Regions from separate parts of the Homo sapiens genome. Here region 2 is linked to region 1. Evidence: promoter capture Hi-C in 16 types of primary human blood cells and fetal thymus (Javierre and others, 2016). All regions are on one chromosome and are shown on one strand. The core of a region is centred on a gene start or on the middle of the fragment in contact, and the rest is flanking DNA. Distances in the headings are between cores, read along the strand shown. Region 1 holds the start of TMEM183A (transmembrane protein 183A). Region 2 overlaps LOC124904486 (a long non-coding RNA gene).

Region 1 (3,368 bases), core at 603-3,102:
CTGAGTCGGAAAAGAGAGTCAGTGAAGGGAGATAAGGGTGGGGCCGTTTTATAGGATTTGGGTAGATAAAGGAAAATTGCAGTCAAAGGGGATTTGTTCTCTGGTGGGCAGGAGTGGGGGTCGCAAGGTGCTCAGTGGGGGAGCTTTTTGAGCCAGGAAAAGGACTTTCACAAGGTAATGTCATCACTTAAGGAAGGACTGGCCATTTTCACTTCTTTTGTGGTGGAATGTCATCAGTTAAGGCGGGGCAGGGCATTTTCACTTTTGTGATTCTTCAGTTACTTCAGGCCATCTGGGCGTACACGTGCAAGTCACCAGGGATGCGGTGGCGTGGCTTGGGCTCAGAGGCCTGATAATACTAGCCCAGGGTCCTGCTCCCTTACAGTTCTGTAATCTTCACTCAGTGACTCGCTTCTGTCTCAATACAAAGGAAAGACGTTATTTTTTCTTTTTCTCCTTTTTTTTTTTTTGAGGCAGGGTATCGCTCTGTAGCCCAGGCTGGAGTGCAGTGGCGCAATCATGGCCCACTGCAGCCTTGACCTCCTGGACTCAAGTGACCTTCCTGCCTCTGCGATAGTTTTTCATGGATGCTTCTAGTAGTTTTTTGGAGGTATGGTGTGTTAGGAACAAACTGCCCCAAAAAGCTTCTTGGTACTGCCGACACTTCCCCCAAACCTCTCCGTGCTGCTCACTCCTCCCCCTAATGCTCTGCAACTCTTCTCCTTCCCCCAAGCCTCTTTACACTTCTAAGTCCTTATGAAGCCAGCAGACTTCACTTATCAGACCTTGCTGCAATAAACAAACCCCAATTACAAATCATCCGGACCGCACAGGGGAAGGTGATGGGAAGCATAAACAAACTTTACCTACACCCTCCTGTAATAAACGTCACAAGCTAATATGTGGCAAAATTAACCAGCAAACAACCCCAGGGTCTCTCTCCCCCATATAAACCCCTCATTTTGTAAGCTCAGGGGTGCCTCCTCTGTCTGTGGTGGAGCAGCCGTCAGGTTAATAAACTTCCTCGGCTGACCTTGGGTCTCTCTTTCGTCCTTTCTCTCGGCTAACCTTATATGGTGATAGATTGGAAACTTTTTTTTTTTTGAGACGGAGTCTTGCTCTGTCGCCCAGGCTGGAGTGCAGTGACCCGATCTCAGCTCACTGCAAGCTCCGCCTCCCGGGTTCATGCCATTCTTCCGCCTCAGCCTCCCGAGTAGCTGGGACTACAGGCGCCCGCCACCACGCCCGGCTAATATTTTGTATTTTTAGTAGAGACGGGGTTTCACCGTGTTAGCCAGGATGGTCTCGATCTCCTGACCTCGTGATCCGCCCGCCTCGGCCTTCCAAAGTACTGGGATTAGGGGCGTGAGCCACCGCGCCCGGCCGATTGGAAGCTTTTAAGAACTCCTTCTCCTATTTTGAGAATTCAGAAATTTATTTATAGCTTTCGTAAAATAGAGTGAAGACTCTTACAGACCTATGTTAGACTAGCAGGCGCTCAGTCTCTGTGGTCCGAGATAGAGCACGAAGATGACAGTGTATATGCATTTTGGTGCTGAAGTGGACCTGGAGTGTGGACAGAGGAGTTACTAAGAAGAATCCCGGAGACCAGGATGTAAACTCTCAATTCTAATCAACACAGGTGTGGGCTATGGTTCTGAGACACCATTCATCTCACACGAGGTACGGCGATACGCGACACCACCCAGTACAACAGCTCTCTCTCCACCTGGAACCCGGACCCAGCTTGATTCGCGGGTGCCGGATGATGACGTATCCTTGCACCTGGCGATGATTGGTTCGCGTGGAGAGGCGTCGTCCGACAACGCGACTCGGAACCCGGACCTATGTTCTCGCGAGAGTTAGCGGCCTCCGGTGTGGGATGGCCGCGGAGCCGGGCGGAGCTGGCTTGCGGCTCCCGGGGCCGGCTCTCCGGCCGGAGACATGGCCCGGGGGCCCGGCCCGCTAGGCAGGCCTCGCCCCGATACGGTCGCCATGCCCAAGAGAGGAAAGCGACTCAAGTTCCGGGCCCACGACGCCTGCTCCGGCCGAGGTGGGCGAGGGGGGCAGGGGCGCTGAAACATTTTGGGGGCTGGCGGCTGGGAGGGGGCTGGACCGTGCCGAGGTGAGCGCTCGCGTGCCCGCGGCTGGAGGGCGGCTCGGTCCGGGGGCCTGCAGCGAGGAGGAGGTGTTGGCGGGGAAGACGCTGACGAGAGAAGGCCTCTTCCTTGAGGGTTGGTGCTGTGTTGCAGTGACCGTGGCGGATTACGCCAACTCGGATCCGGCGGTCGTGAGGTCTGGACGAGTCAAGAAAGCCGTAGCCAACGCTGTTCAGCAGGAAGGTAAGCTTTGCGCGAGCCTTTAAAGACTCATGCCGCGAAGACAGAACTAGGTATTTTATTTCTGTTTTTCTTGCAGTCCTTTAGTCGTCTTCCTGTAACCGTGTTTGCTTTCGTTAGTGTTAACTTACATATTGGGGTGGAGGAGGATTAGTCAAGAGTAGCAGTTTCTGTAGCAGAAATATTTTCTTTCTTTCTTTGCATTTAAAAACATGTTTGCATACTTTTTAGTTTCCACTGCATTCTTCTTGGTTATTAATCTCTTTGCTGTAGTTCACATGTTTTACTCTGCAGTTTGCTTCCTTGTTTAATAACCTTGGAGTGTTCTTTTCCTTTTCTGGTGTTTCTCTTGCTTTCAGTCTGTTTACTCATGGGTCTGAGACTTGTGTTTTATGACACCTACTGCCTCCAGCTCAGGACCAGGATTAAATTGGATTCAATTTGTCTCAAACATTTCTCTGTAGACCTTATGAGAATACAAATCAGCTTTTATCCTGCAGGGTTTATAGTGGAAAAATTGTACACACCTTTTTTCTTCAGGGCTGAAAAAAGGAGTTTCTGCAACTTTGGAGTCAGTTTGCCCATTGCTTTCCTTTTTTTTTTTTTTTTTTGTATTTAAAATACTAAAATCTTTATTTTTTTTGGTGACAGATTCTCACCTTTCTCTCTCAACGATGTTTTTTTTCCCCCCTTTCCTGAATGGATGCTGATACCTTGGCTAAGTTGTTTGTATTTCTGGGTGGAGCTGTGTGCCATCTCATTCTCCTTTTATTTTCTTCTAGTAAAATCTCTTTGTGGCTTGGAAGCCTCTCAGGTTCCTGCAGAGGAAGCTCTTTCTGGGGCTGGTGAGCCCTGTGACATCATCGACAGCAGTGATGAGATGGATGCCCAGGAGGAAAGCATCCATGAGAGAACTGTCTCCAGAAAAAAGAAAAGCAAGAGACACAAAGGTATGGAGCTTGTTCTCTTTTGGTTTATTAGACCTGCCTGTGGTGACAAATTGAAGATGTTACTTTCCCAGTAGCACAG
Region 2 (3,421 bases), core at 230-2,729, 260 kb after region 1:
CAAGGGCAAGCTGTGGGGCGCTTCTTGCCGTCTCTACTCAAAACGGAAAAAGCTGGCCAGGCGCGGTGGCTCACGTCTGTAATCCCAGCACTTTGGGAGACTGAGACAGGAGGATCGCTTGAGCCCAGGAGTTCAAGATCAGTCTGGACAACGTAAGGAGACCCTGTCTCTTCAAATATATATATATATATATATATATATATATATACACACACACACACACACATATACATATGTGTATATATACATATATATGTGTGTATATATATACACATATATGTGTGTGTATATATGTATATATGTATATAATTATATATGTATATATGTGTATATATACGTATATAATTATATATACACACATATATGTGTATATATGTAAAATTAGCCAGGCATGGTGGTACGTACCTATGGTCTCAGCTACTCAGGAGGCTGAGGCAGGAGGATCGCCTGAGCCCTGGGGTGTTGAGGCTGTGGTGAGCTGTGATGGTGCCACTGCACTCCAGCCTGGGGCAGGGACTGAGACCCCATCTCAAAAAATAAAAATAAAAAGAATGGAAAGAACCAATGAAATCTTGATGCTATTAACACCTCTGAATATTTCACTGGTTTCTAGAATCCACACAAAACAGGAATCCTACAGAATGATGGCTTGCAGAGGACATTGTAACAGGGCAGTCAAACCAGTTGGAGAAGTGTGCTCTGTCCTATAAAAACGTGCTCCTTCCTGACGTCTACCCCATGTTGGTGGGCCCATGATCTCCTCCTAGACCTCTCAGCTGAAATCAGTCCTGTCCCTGTGTTTGGTGTCCTTCATACCCTCTCGTGGCTGCCTCCCTGCCACGGCCCTGGCTCAGGCCCTGGTCACCTTGCCTAGGGTAGTGGCTTCCCTGGGAATGCCATCTCCACTCAATACTCCTTCTGGTGCTAGAGTGCCCTGCTCAAGGCCTCACCTCCCACGAAGCTTCCTGAACAGCTTAACTCACTGTTTCTTCCTGTTCTGCCCTCTCCTATTATCTGTGCAAATCTGAAGGCACTTTCTGCTCTGTCATGTACCTGATCTTTCCTGCCAGCCTAGACTGCTTTGATGAAAACTGCATCAGATAGCAGAGGAAACACTTATTTGTATGGAAGTGGCGTCCTCTGCTGGTAGAAGTATGTAATGACTGGAACTTTTCCCTAGCTGTGTAAAGGACCCTCACTGCCCAAAGCTGAGACAACCAGTGATACCCAAGGAAACCCAGCTGCCCTTCTCTCTGCCCACCCCAGTCCCTAAGCATGTAAAATTCAATCCACTGACTCACTCACCAGATTTCCACACCTCACTATTACACTAAGATGTTCCTGATGCTCCAGTCTCATGGATAATGGCAATCTTTAACATTAATTGGATATGCACTGTATATGCCAGGCACTGGGCTAATCTCTTCATCTGTATTATATTATTTAACCCTCATAGCAACTTTGTACGGCAGACAAGTGGACCAGATTCCTTAAAAGCAGAGCCTGGGACAGATTTCATGCATATCTTCTTCTGTTGGGGAAGAACCCTCAGAAGAAAGAAAAGGAAGGAGAGTGGGGTGGGGAAGGAGGGAGCCAGGCTGTGGTGTCAGCTGTGGCTGAGCTGCGGCCTGATTTCATGGGGATCCCTGAAGCATGTGCTACACCAGAGTTCATCTTGTCTTGAGGTCGGGGACTGGCCTTTCCTGCCCCTGTGTCAGACAAGCATCGGCTGCAAGCCCCAAGTAAGGCAGCTTCCATTCCCGGGGAAGTCTCTGCAGAGGGAATAACTGTGAACTGTTACCAGCCAAACCTCACAGCAGCCGGTGGGCAGGGATGGAGGGTTGCACCAGACCAGTAAAGGGGATTTGGCTGGGCACTAATAGCAACCATGGTACTGTTATTTCTACTGTACAAATGCAGAATTATAATCTTCCAGGTTTGTAGATACTTTATAGATTTTGAGTGTTTTCATATTCATTACCTCATTCAATGTTACAGTAAGCTTGAGAGGTAGTGATCATGATCCCCACTTTATGAATGAGAGTGAGAAGTGGGAGACTTCCTCAGGATTGTCCAGCCAATAAATACCTTCTCTGTTTATAAATAGCGTCTTCTCAGATACATAGGCAGCTGTATTGGGTCCCAGTCCAACCTCTTCCCTGTGACATTCAGGCTCTGGTCGTTTACCAAGGATCTTACAGCCCTTTTAACTCAAAAGAGCCATGAAGCTGGCAACCTTCCTTGCTGAGACTAGGTACGAGGATACACCTCCTATCAGGTGAGGCCTTACCTTGCCTGCCTGACACTTTGCTGGGCTCAGAATGCTTCTCCAAATTCCCCCATGGAAAGAAGACACCCGGGCACTTCTCACCTGCTCCTGCTTCTGCAGTTCCCTTGGCAGTTTCCTTAGAGGTGTCCCAGCAAGCTAGAGTCTGTCAGAGGACATTGAGGGCCAGGCCAGAGAAGTTTAGAAAGAGTCCCAGGACTACCTGAGCACTGCCTTCACCTGCCACAGGGGTAGCTGTGCAGCCAGTCTTGTGGCAGAGGCTGGGGTTTCCTGGATCTTAGAAGTGTCACCTCTTCCACCCTCTCAGGGCCCTGGACTTTCGCCCTCAAGCTGCCTCTGGATCTAGCAAAGGCCCTGAGCCATCTTTGGAATGGATGAGTTCGAAAAGCTGCATTAGAGTGGCTCCCCTCCTTCAACGCCACCTCATCAGAGTTCTAAGGGATGCTTCACACCTAAGAGCTGATGAGGTACAGCAGGAGCACACAGGGGACCCAGAAACCTCGCATTGTGTTGAGAAACAGCTGACTGACTCAGGTTCAAATCCCCCACTCTATCACAGGGCATCTCAGTTAAGATGAGGTAGAAATGAGAGTAACAGAAAATTCACAACAGCAGCAATTGTGTTGTTATTGAGTGGCCCTTGCCCTCATGGTACAAGGTAGCACCTGCCTACCAAGTAGCAAAACAGAGGGAGGGACAAAGAAGAAGGAGCAGACAGCAGATGCACAACCTGTGTCTTAAGAAAGGTTCCCAGACACTGCTGCATAACGCGTCTACTTACTTCTCTTTGGCCAGAACTCAGTCATGTGACCACGCCTACCCACACAGGAGACTGGGAAATGCAGTCTTCATTCTGGGCAGCCATGTTTCCTGCTACAACTTTTCTTACCCTGATAAAATAGTAGAAAGTTATTGGAGACTAGCAGCTTCTACCACACTAGATTCTGGCCTCGGGCAAGTCTCATGGCCTCTCTAGGCTTGGAGATAATGCTATCTTACAACAAACAATTTGTATTAACTGAAGCCTCCGATGCAAAGGATCTAGCACAGAGCCTGGAATATACTATGCACAACCTCCCCTTCTCTGTTCCTGCCTCCAGATATTCTGAAGTGTGTGGCAGTAGCTCAAGTGCT

The links. Contacts are between HindIII fragments. The CHiCAGO score rates a contact against its expected background, and 5 or more counts as called.
Region 2: a fragment that was not itself captured here is called in contact with the fragment with the promoter of TMEM183A in region 1 in 3 of 17 cell types (fetal thymus, M0 macrophages and M1 macrophages); the score reaches 10.0 in fetal thymus.

Annotation. Positions count from the first base shown.
Region 1 is chr1:203,005,522-203,008,889 of GRCh38, forward strand. TMEM183A (transmembrane protein 183A) reads left to right here and starts at 1,853. Exons shown (of 8, transcript NM_138391.6): 1 at 1,853-2,053; 2 at 2,253-2,342; 3 at 3,122-3,289. The coding sequence starts at 1,945. It also overlaps the pseudogene MGAT4FP. RefSeq lists enhancers at 1-430, 1,072-1,201, 1,205-1,979, 1,980-2,752, a cis regulatory region at 182-531 and a silencer at 1,912-2,161. The HindIII fragment of the contact is 953 bases long and covers 1,393-2,345 here.
Region 2 is chr1:203,268,113-203,271,533 of GRCh38, forward strand. It overlaps LOC124904486 (a long non-coding RNA gene), which reads right to left. Exons shown (of 2, transcript XR_007066798.1): 2 at 1-3,421. Among named protein-coding and RNA genes, the nearest start is that of LINC01353, 17 kb to the right of the region's middle. The HindIII fragment of the contact is 1,041 bases long and covers 960-2,000 here.